Regions from separate parts of the Homo sapiens genome. Here region 2 is linked to region 1. Evidence: promoter capture Hi-C in 16 types of primary human blood cells and fetal thymus (Javierre and others, 2016). All regions are on one chromosome and are shown on one strand. Each heading gives the region's core, a stretch centred on a gene start or on the middle of the fragment in contact. The rest is flanking DNA. Distances are from core to core; before and after follow the strand shown.

Region 1 (4,766 bases), core at 2,267-4,766:
ACTTTCTTAAAGTATCATGAGTTTTTTTTTTTTTTTAAGCTCATCAGCTATTGTTAGTGTTAGTGTATTTAATGTGTGTCCCAAGACAATTCTTCTTCTTCCTATGTGGCCCAGGGAAGGTAAAAGATTGAACACCCCTGGCCTACAGTGTTCTACTATGAAGTTTCAGTTTTAGTTCGGCCTAGAATGTTTTAGTACAGAAGGCAAGTGAGATTTTCTCTGTTTCTCCAAGGACTTTTGAAAAAGTGTAAAAGCACTGGGCCCACTGTTGAACCTTGCTATAAAAAAGTATTTTTGATACCATTTGTATCACTTTAGTAATAGGAGTTTTTCATATGTTGGGAAAATGGTTTAGCTTAACTCTATCATGGTAGTTGATAGTGATGAACTAACGTGGAATAATAGATCTGTAAACCATCATAGACGGTAATAGGCTATGTTGTTGCTACCTTAGGATCATAATGGACTTTCTAAAATTCAAGAGTACTCAAAGAAGTAAAATGAATATAAGTCTTGATTTCTGAAAGGGCTATGGTTCACTTGGAACACAATACAAACTGTGAATCATGTACACATGGGGAATAATGGTTTATACTAACTGCACAGTGCTTACCTTGAGAGGACTCTGTGCTATTAAAGAAAAAAATAACCTGAGCCTTCTGAAGTAGCTATAAACAAATGAATATTTAACTTCATAATAAAAATATGACTATTTTGTAAATGCACCAAGGTAGAAGTAACAAATCAACTATGGCAATTTTTCAGGTTTCTGTGGTTAAGAAACTGGTAACGTGGAATTTTAGTATATGTATTTCCAATCATATAAAAATAAAAAGTCATAATAAACATATTTGCAGAAACTTAAAAAAAGTTAAAATAACATCTTATTTGCAATGATATTAAATAATTCATACAAGTAATTTTTAGCACTTGTGCCTCTCAAGGAATTGTATGAATCCTAACATAATTAGTATCCATATATATTCCCAAATCAATATAGCCATGGGCATAAAATATATTAATGTGAAATATATAATTACATATCATTATAATTAACACCGCTAGATTTTATATTATGTATATCATTTTACATATGAAATTGGAAAATTGCATATATTTCAAGACATTCTATCCAAGCTGTGTTCTATCTTGAGAAACTTCCTGAAGATTGCGCTTTTCACATACGTCCTGAAAATTGATTTATACCTAAATAACAAAAAATGATCTATTTCAATGAACCTATCATTTAAATATTTTTGCATTTCATGCATATACATTAACATACTATAAAATATTTTCTCTAACTTAAAATCACCACAATGTTATGTTTTATAGGCCTAAACTAAAAAATACATAATTATGGCATTTATATACATTGACATGTTCTACTTTGTTACTACAGATTTTCAGAGGCAACTTAATAATTTAAACAAAATGATTTTATATAGAATAATATTAACTAGAGTAATAAATATTTTTATATAGACAATAATATTAAGAACTATATTCATACAGTTACCGGTCACAGTGGCTAAACTTTTGCTGATACGGATAAACCACTGTTAAAAAAAACAACAACCAGGGTCTTGTCAATGTTTCAAAATGAATTAAAATCAAATCCAGCAACAGGCCCTGAAATCCTTTATAAGCTCCTTTGACTAAATTAAAAAAATTAACTTGCATAATATGAAAAGTAAAAAATAAAATGTGCATTTATCCTATAGATTATAAATTTTTGCTAATAGAAATTGAGACACTAAATTAAACACTGATAGTTTTAACAGGTTTATATTTCCATGTCAAAGAGACAATTAACATTGCAGTAAAAAAATAATTACCCCTCCGCTGGCCTTTGCTTTTTGAAGCTATATATTCCTGGCGAAGCATACCACAAGGACGGTCATAAAAGTGAAGCCTCATTAAATTACTTTTAGACTTATTACACAAGTTTTAATTAGCATTGTACATATTTTAACTGTACATATATTCTTTCAGTTTTCCTGGTTATAGGAAATTACACTGGCTGTGTCAACATTTGTCAATGTGAGGACAAAACTACCTTGGATTCTGTTTTTCAAGAAGTAGGCCTCATTTTTAAACTGTGCTAACTGTCGTCTGAGATGACTAAAATACTATCAGTTGGGATTTCTCAGGAACAGTTCTACAGTTCTGTCGTTTGCTAAACATACGAGCATTGTCCCGAGCAGTTTCAATCACTCAGGCCGCCGGACCTCTACCTCTAACTCACAAAGAAAGCCCATTTCCCTGTTGGCTGCAAAACTCCCCCAAGAAGCAAGTGCTTGCTCCTCGCAGCAGTAACTGATCCTACGATCCTTGTTAGCATTTCAGGAAGTCGCTGCCTGCGTGCCCCGTATCTCACGGGTCCTCCACTCTCCTGGAAGGTGGGAGAGGGTGACCCCGCCGGGAGGCTGGGGAGAAAAAAGGCCGCCTCCAGAAAACTTAGATGGTTAGCAATAATTCTCCCCAAGGAGAAAGAAAGTGTGCTTGAAATACACCTTTCCTACTGTGTGTGTGTGTGTGTGTGTGTGTGTGTGTGTGTGTGTGTGTGTGTCTTAGTCATTCCCACCCAGGATATTCGGGACTCACTGACTTCTGAGGTGGGTTTAGAAGCTCTGTTCGCCTCAGTTTCCCACGATTGAGGGGCTGTGTGAAGGGAGGTCCAGGTTCAATGGTACTGCGAGAACCACATGTCTAAGTCGTTGTAACCCGAATGGGGAAGCCTCCACCGGCGGTTATCTCCTCCTCCTCCTAGCCTGGGCTAGAGACGAATTATCTGTTTACGAAATCACACCAAACAAAACAAGTGCCGAATGCGCCCCGGACTTTTCGAGGGCCTTTCCTACCTGGTCTTCTAGGAAGCGGCTGCTGCCCTAGACGCTGGCTCCTCAGTAGCATCAGCACGAGGGCCACAGCGGCGGGCGCCCCTGGCGCTGCCCACTCCCCCGTGAGCCGCGGGATGTGAACCACGAAAACCCTCACTCGCGGCGGGCCGCACGCGCGCCGAATCCGGAGGGTCACCAAGAACCTGCGCACCATGTTCTCGCCGCCTCCAGGGCCGAGCTCGGCAGCCGCTGCGCCGCCCTTTGGCACCAGAGGTGAGCAGCGCCACTCCTGCCCCCTTAACTGCAGACTGGGACCCACGCACCGCCCCCTGCCCATCTCCGCCCCGCAGGCGCGCACCCGCCTTCCCTGAGCGCGCCCGCCCCCCACCTTCACCCCCACCCCCACCCCACCCCCACTCCCACCCGGACCTCCAAGATCTCGGAACGGCTCTGAGCCCTGCGCACGCGGGAAGGGCTGCCGGAGGCGCCCGTAGGGAGGCGCGCGCGCGGGCGGCTCAGGGCCCGCGTTCCTCTCCCTCCCGCCTACCGCCACTTTCCCGCCCTGTGTGCGCCCCCACCCCCACCACCATCTTCCCACCCTCAGCGCGGGCGCCCCGCGGTGACGGCCCAGGGGCCGGACGCCTGGAACGCAACTCCAGGCAGCTCGCCCCCTAGCTACATCCGTCACCTGACACGGCCCTACCAGGAACAGCCGCGCTCCCGCGGATTCTGGTGCTGCTCGCGTCCCCGCTCCCCTATTCCCCTTATTTTATTCCTGGCTCCCCTCGTCGAAAGTCTTCCATTCTTCAAACTAGATTATTTAAAAATGAAAAAGGAAGAAAGGAAAGCGAGGTCATCTCATTGCTCTATCCGCCAATCAGGAGGCTGAATGTCAGTTTTGAACTAAAAGCCGCTCCGCTCCTCTTCTAGATTTGGAAAACAAGCGAAATTAAACTAAACCGCTGCACGCCTCTGACGCGACATCTGGACACGGCGCGGCGCTGGCGCTGCCGGAGCTGTCGACCCGGCCTGGCGCCGGACTAGGTAGGTGGAGTCGCACCCGGGGGTCCCAGCTGGGTCCGGGCGCCCATTCCCCTCCCAGCTGCCCGCGTCGCCGAGGGCGCCTGGCTGGGACAAGCACCGAGTCCTTTGTGTCTAGCCCATTTTTATTTTCGGTTTTAACCTTCACGACAGCCGCGGAGCATCTGAGCGCTTCTTCCTCTTTCCTCTTCCCCCGCGCTCCCCTCCCCTGCTGGCCGCTCCCCTCCTGTCGCCGCGTCCTCGCGTAGAATGGTTGTCTTGGCGACCGTTGGCCGCTGCCGCCTCCACGCTCTGCCCCGCGCCCAGACACCCCGACTCCCCTTGATCCCGCCGCCTGACTCCTCGGCGTACGTTCTCTCTCCGGTCTCCCCCTCCATGTCCCCTCCTCCCCTTTTCTTCCACATCACCGATCCTTTCTGGACTCTCTCCCTTCCTCCTTTCCAGCTGGGAGACAGGAAAAGCGGTCCTGTTTGGGAACAGTAAAAGCAGGGCAAGGAAAGGAAGGAGCGGCAGAAAGGAGGGGTGAGTCGAGGACACAGGGGCAGCCGGAGAATGCGGAGGAGCCGGGTCCTGAGCGCGGTCTAAGCGAGGCTCGGCTCTCGTCCAGGAACTCGGACGCGGGCTCGCCGGCTCTCCGCGCGCGGGAAGTCGAGCCCAGGACGCCGCCTTCAGGCCGGCGCGCTGACCCGGTGCCCCGACCCGGAGCCTGCGGTCTGCCTGGATCCGTCCTAAACCTCGCGGGCTGGACCCGCGGCCTGAGTGGGTGGGTGTGTGCCAGAGGATTCGGGACTAGGCCCAGCTCCGGGAACCTGGAAATGTGGCCCGCTTCTCAGTGGCTTCCTGTTCATGCGCTTGGGCCTAGTGGCCTAGTTGAAGAAGTGG
Region 2 (4,766 bases), core at 831-3,330, 1.4 Mb before region 1:
TCTATGCGTTCTTCAATTTGTAAGTGTAAAAGGATCTTAAGCCCAATAAGTATGAAAACAGTTGATTTACATTTCAACCTCAACTTATGAGGTAATAGTTCTATTTTATCATCATTTCCATAATGCAAATGAGAAAAGAGACACAGAAGTAACTTGTCCAAAACCATACAAGGAGTCTCTTAAACCAACATTTGAATACAAGTCTGTAATTCCTAACCCTAAATTCTCTCCATCTTTAAGCAACAATATCTACCCAAGATATTAAAGATCACTTTTAGATCTTTAACTTTTAGATAGCTACATGCTAATCCCTATTTTTAAAACAATATTCTATATTGGTTTTTTATTCTTTTTCAGTTTTAAAAAGTTATGTGTGCTCATTGAATGTTTTAAATATACGGAGTTAACTTTAAAAAAAAATCAAACACTACAAAAATAACCTCCCATCACCACCACAAGTAGCTACTAAACTACTAGTAAGAGTTTGATGCCCGCTAATGCAAATTTACTTATTTACAGACATACACTTGTATAGACATACGTATACTTATCTGCACAAGCACTTTTTTGAAAAAATGAGATCACAATGATTTAGCAACTTGCCTTATTTCACTTAATTATTCTTGAAGATCTTCCTGCATCTACAAATAGATATACCTCTTTTTATAGATTATCATCATTTAATTGTATCCAGTTGAGGGCCCCTATATGGCTTTCTTCCAAATTTTGACTATTACAAAAACAGTCACAAGAAACATGCTGTATCTTTGTGTACTTGTGAGAACATATTTGTCAGAAAATTCCTAGAAGTAAATTTGCTAGGCTAAACAGTATAAACATTAAAAATCTTAATAGACCTTGCCAATGTTCTCCAAAATACCCCTGCCCGATTTACATTCTCACCCACAGAATATGAGATTTCCACCAACAATTCAGCTTTTAAGTGCCTTGGAAAATTATACTTTATGTGCTTCAAAATGCACAGCAGTAAAACTGTTCTCACTGGTCATCTAAATTTCATACAGAACCCTACACAAATAACACTCGCTGAATCTATCAGAACAGTCACTCATCTTCATTTTGTTCCTTATATCTTTTAAATGACTCTGAAGAGAAAATATACCAGATGCACACAACGTCTTCAGCTAGTAAGCCCTCAAGTATTAGTTACCTTGATAAAAACTTACCCAAATTATTTCAGAAGACCATTTAACACAAATCAAAACTATGCAGTAAAGCTGGCCTCATACACTTAAAGGAAAATTGTTAGAGTGGATTTATTAAGCTTTATCTGCCCACTCAAAGGACTAAGGCTACAAATAAAAAGCTATCAAATCCTACCAGTGGCCAAATTAGCTTCCATAAAATAATAAGCAACAGATTTCATATCATAAATGTCAGTGAAACAAATTGCAATAGTAAGGATGGCTGTAACTGGAAAAAAAGTTCACTCAAATTCACATCATACTAAAAACAAAAACATTAATATTTTAAAAGAAATGTTTTGAATGTGACTATTCATTTCAGTCATATCAGACTAGTACAAATCTTTGGTACTAATAAATAAGATATTGTCTTTTTTTGCAGGTAAATAGTTTAAAAATGCATCATACTCTGACCTACCTGTTTTGTCATGGCTAATAGACATTCCAGGCTTCACCATTTCATCAAAATCTCTTTTCTAAGATTTTGTGCCATTAGTTTTAAATTGAAGGTCTCCCACCCATCTTTGTGACAGAGTAAAACCTCATTAATTCAAATCCAATTAGCTCAATTCTGAAATGGTATACATAATTCTCATTAAGCAACAAGTTAAAAATACTATAATTTTTTCTCCTACAAATTCTAATATTACTGTGAAGTAAAGGAAATCAACCTGAAAATCAATTCACTTTTCCAAACCAAAGATTTACAAAACTAAGGACTCTTTCATCTTTGTGGCTGAGCAGTTCATCCTCAGTCCTAAGGCTCATCTCTGTTTAGCAGCTACTGTATACAGTGAAAGTGATTTAGATTGTCACTATAGCCAACACAGCTTATTTATTATAGAATATGAGCATTTCTTTTAAAGATCTTATAACTCAGATTTCTCACAAATTCATATTTTCAGTTTCTCCAATTTCCAATTGGTAGAATTTTACTCTATCACTTATAGATCTACAATATAGCTAACATAACACTTTAAAAGGTACTGGAAGTAGACATACAAATTCTTGGCATTCTTATTCTATATTTATTCTTATCATTTTGAAAGACTTTATAAGCCAAAAAATAAGTCCCAGGATTAAGTGGCATGTTTGGTGTTGCTTGAACTTACAACTATTCCCAATGAACAGAGAAACCTTCTCTTGCAATCTGAATCATGTGTAATTACAGTATGACAAGGTCTCTCCTGGGTGATGTAAGCTGGCACTTTTCCCAGGACTTGTCACATCATGGGAAGCACGCATACAAATAAAAATCCAAAAATAAACATTTTAAAACAATGGCTTATAGACTGCATAGAGAACCTCCACAGTTGAGTATAAAAATTGAGGAATCCAACCAACAAGCAGACATCTCTCACCAGAGACCTCTGAGAAGTCATCACTGCTATCAAGCAGCTTACCACGCCTAGCAACAACTCCCAGGTGTGGCCTATGTGAGCAGCACCCTCATGTTCCCTCAGGGCAGACAGAAAATCATTAAGTATAGGAAATAAAAATAACATCAATGCACACATCCACTGAAGCAGAAAAACAATGGTAAAATAGAGGTTGATCATCTTTAATTTCATAATGCCAATTTGTTGATTGTCAAGGTGCCTAAACAAAGTTACCTTAAGAGCTACATCTTCTGCCAACTGAGTTAATTTTCCTAATAAATGTTGCTTTTTAAAAGCTTATTTCACCTTGAAGTGAACTGCAGCCAAGTAGTAGTAATAATGTGTACCAAGGATCTTAGAAAGTGGTTTCTTTTGTTTAAACTCCTCTGCTCTACAGACACATGGAAAGGGAGAGAGAGAATCCGAGAAGCAGCATATCAACCTCATCAGCGATAGAAATTTGACATCGCTCATCCTTACCACAGTTTGGAGGAAATATGAAATATAATAATCTCTGACTATATTTTAACATAAAATGCTAACAAATTTCAAATGTTATTTCCTATAGGCCATGCATATTTCTAGCCCTCTATAAGAAACTGGATTTATTTATTAACCATCCAACAAAGACCATCAAATTCAACCGTTCAAGTTTTCAGGAGGAGTTATAAACCAAACCACTAAAGGCAAAAAATACAATCCTACTTCCCATTACATGAGCTCTGGAAACAAAACTAAGCACCAATACAAACCTCTGCCACCTCTAAGGCACACGACGCTTCTCCTTTCTTTATTCAGCCCCCTGAATGTTCAATAATTTCCACACAGCTCTAAGCAGAATGGATTTATTATGATATTACTCTAAGAAACGACAGGAGTTCTAGATGCCAATAAAGATTACGGATCAAATGGAAGATAACTACTAACCATTGTGTCGACTTAGATAAATAAACCTGCTCACAAACAAAGCACCTTATTGTATTTGTACTGTTACCTTCACTAATCCAACTAAAACAACCAGACATTAGTTTTCCAGAGGTTGAAGGGAAAAGAAATCGGTATTTCTCAAACCCTCTTTAAATTTCTTTCAAAATGACACTCCGTTTCTTTTTTCCAAAACTGTCCTGCCCATTATGGAAAATGTTTGGGACCACAGAGGCCCAGTAGGATTATGCAAACTAGACTCCAAGGCTAAGAACCAAGGTGGGGAGGGACTAAAGCAAAAGGCTTCCTCCACATCGTTCCTCTTCAACTTAGCTTCGACCTTTGCAAGAACAGTCTCCCTGCAGATCACATCCGGCAGACACTTTGGAACGTTGCTCAGAATCAAAGGAGCAGTCAAGTGGCACGCGGGGGTGGGAGGGAGGAACGAGTAAGCCCCCCAAGTAAACATAAAATCCAGACTGGAGTGGGTGTGGCGGTGGCTAAGCCACAAAAAGAAAAGTCTATGGCAACTGGCACCTGGTGCCTCATACACAGACAGGAAAGCACAGAAGACCCTAAAGAGAACCGACTTGCCAAGACCGAACAATAACTACATCCAATACATTCTTTGCTAATAACACAGGTAAATCTTAATTTCTCTAGGAAAACACACACACACACACACACACACACACACACACACACACACGCGCAAAGTGTTTATTCCCTCCAGCCCGATTCCCCACATCTCCAAACTCAACAACTAATTGCACCTTCCCCACAGAACCCGCGGCTAACCCCAGAGGACTGGTGAGGGCTGGCTTGGGATGAATAAACACTCGACACCTGACGGTCCTTTCTCTGCGGTGACTTTCACCAAGCCGAAGTGGCGCGCGCGCGGGCAGGCGGGAGCCGGGACCTGGCCCGCGCGGCGCCGCGCACCCGGATCCCGAGGCTACGCCGGCGAGCGCGGCGCGGGGGGCGGGGAGCGGGACAGCGGGACCGCCCGGGCCAAGCGATTGTTTCAAAGACATTTTTTATCAAGACCCTTTTGTATTCGAGCCCTACCTCTTTTTGGCCTAGGAAAGCTTTCGTGCAAGTGGAAGACGACTTTCTCCACAAAGTGCTGTATGTTACTGTGCTCCGGACCGCGTACGAACACCATCCAGTCGTGGGTGAAGCCCTCCACGGTGGGTTTTTTCCTCACCTGGGCGCGGTGCCCCAGCTCCAGCTTCACCTGCACGGCACACTGCGGGCA

The links. The method cuts DNA at HindIII sites, captures the fragments that hold promoters and counts their contacts. A CHiCAGO score of 5 or more calls a contact.
Region 2: a fragment that was not itself captured here is called in contact with the fragment with the promoter of CDKN2B-AS1 in region 1 in 1 of 17 cell types (total B cells); the score reaches 5.0 in total B cells.

The regions. Positions count from the first base shown.
Region 1 is chr9:21,991,275-21,996,040 of GRCh38, forward strand. It overlaps CDKN2B-AS1 (CDKN2B and CDKN2A antisense cis and trans regulatory RNA 1), which reads left to right and starts at 3,517. Exons shown (of 19, transcript NR_003529.4): 1 at 3,517-3,887. LOC124902130 (a long non-coding RNA gene) reads right to left here and starts at 2,754. Exons shown (of 2, transcript XR_007061436.1): 1 at 2,612-2,754; 2 at 1-1,206. It also overlaps a transcript of CDKN2A not described here. RefSeq lists silencers at 3,191-3,450, 3,771-3,970. The HindIII fragment of the contact is 17,311 bases long and covers 1-4,766 here.
Region 2 is chr9:20,616,078-20,620,843 of GRCh38, forward strand. MLLT3 (MLLT3 super elongation complex subunit) reads right to left here. Exons shown (of 11, transcript NM_004529.4): 2 at 4,577-4,757. Among named protein-coding and RNA genes, the nearest start is that of MLLT3, 4.0 kb to the right of the region's middle. RefSeq lists a silencer at 4,371-4,490 and an enhancer at 4,651-4,766. The HindIII fragment of the contact is 1,595 bases long and covers 1,284-2,878 here.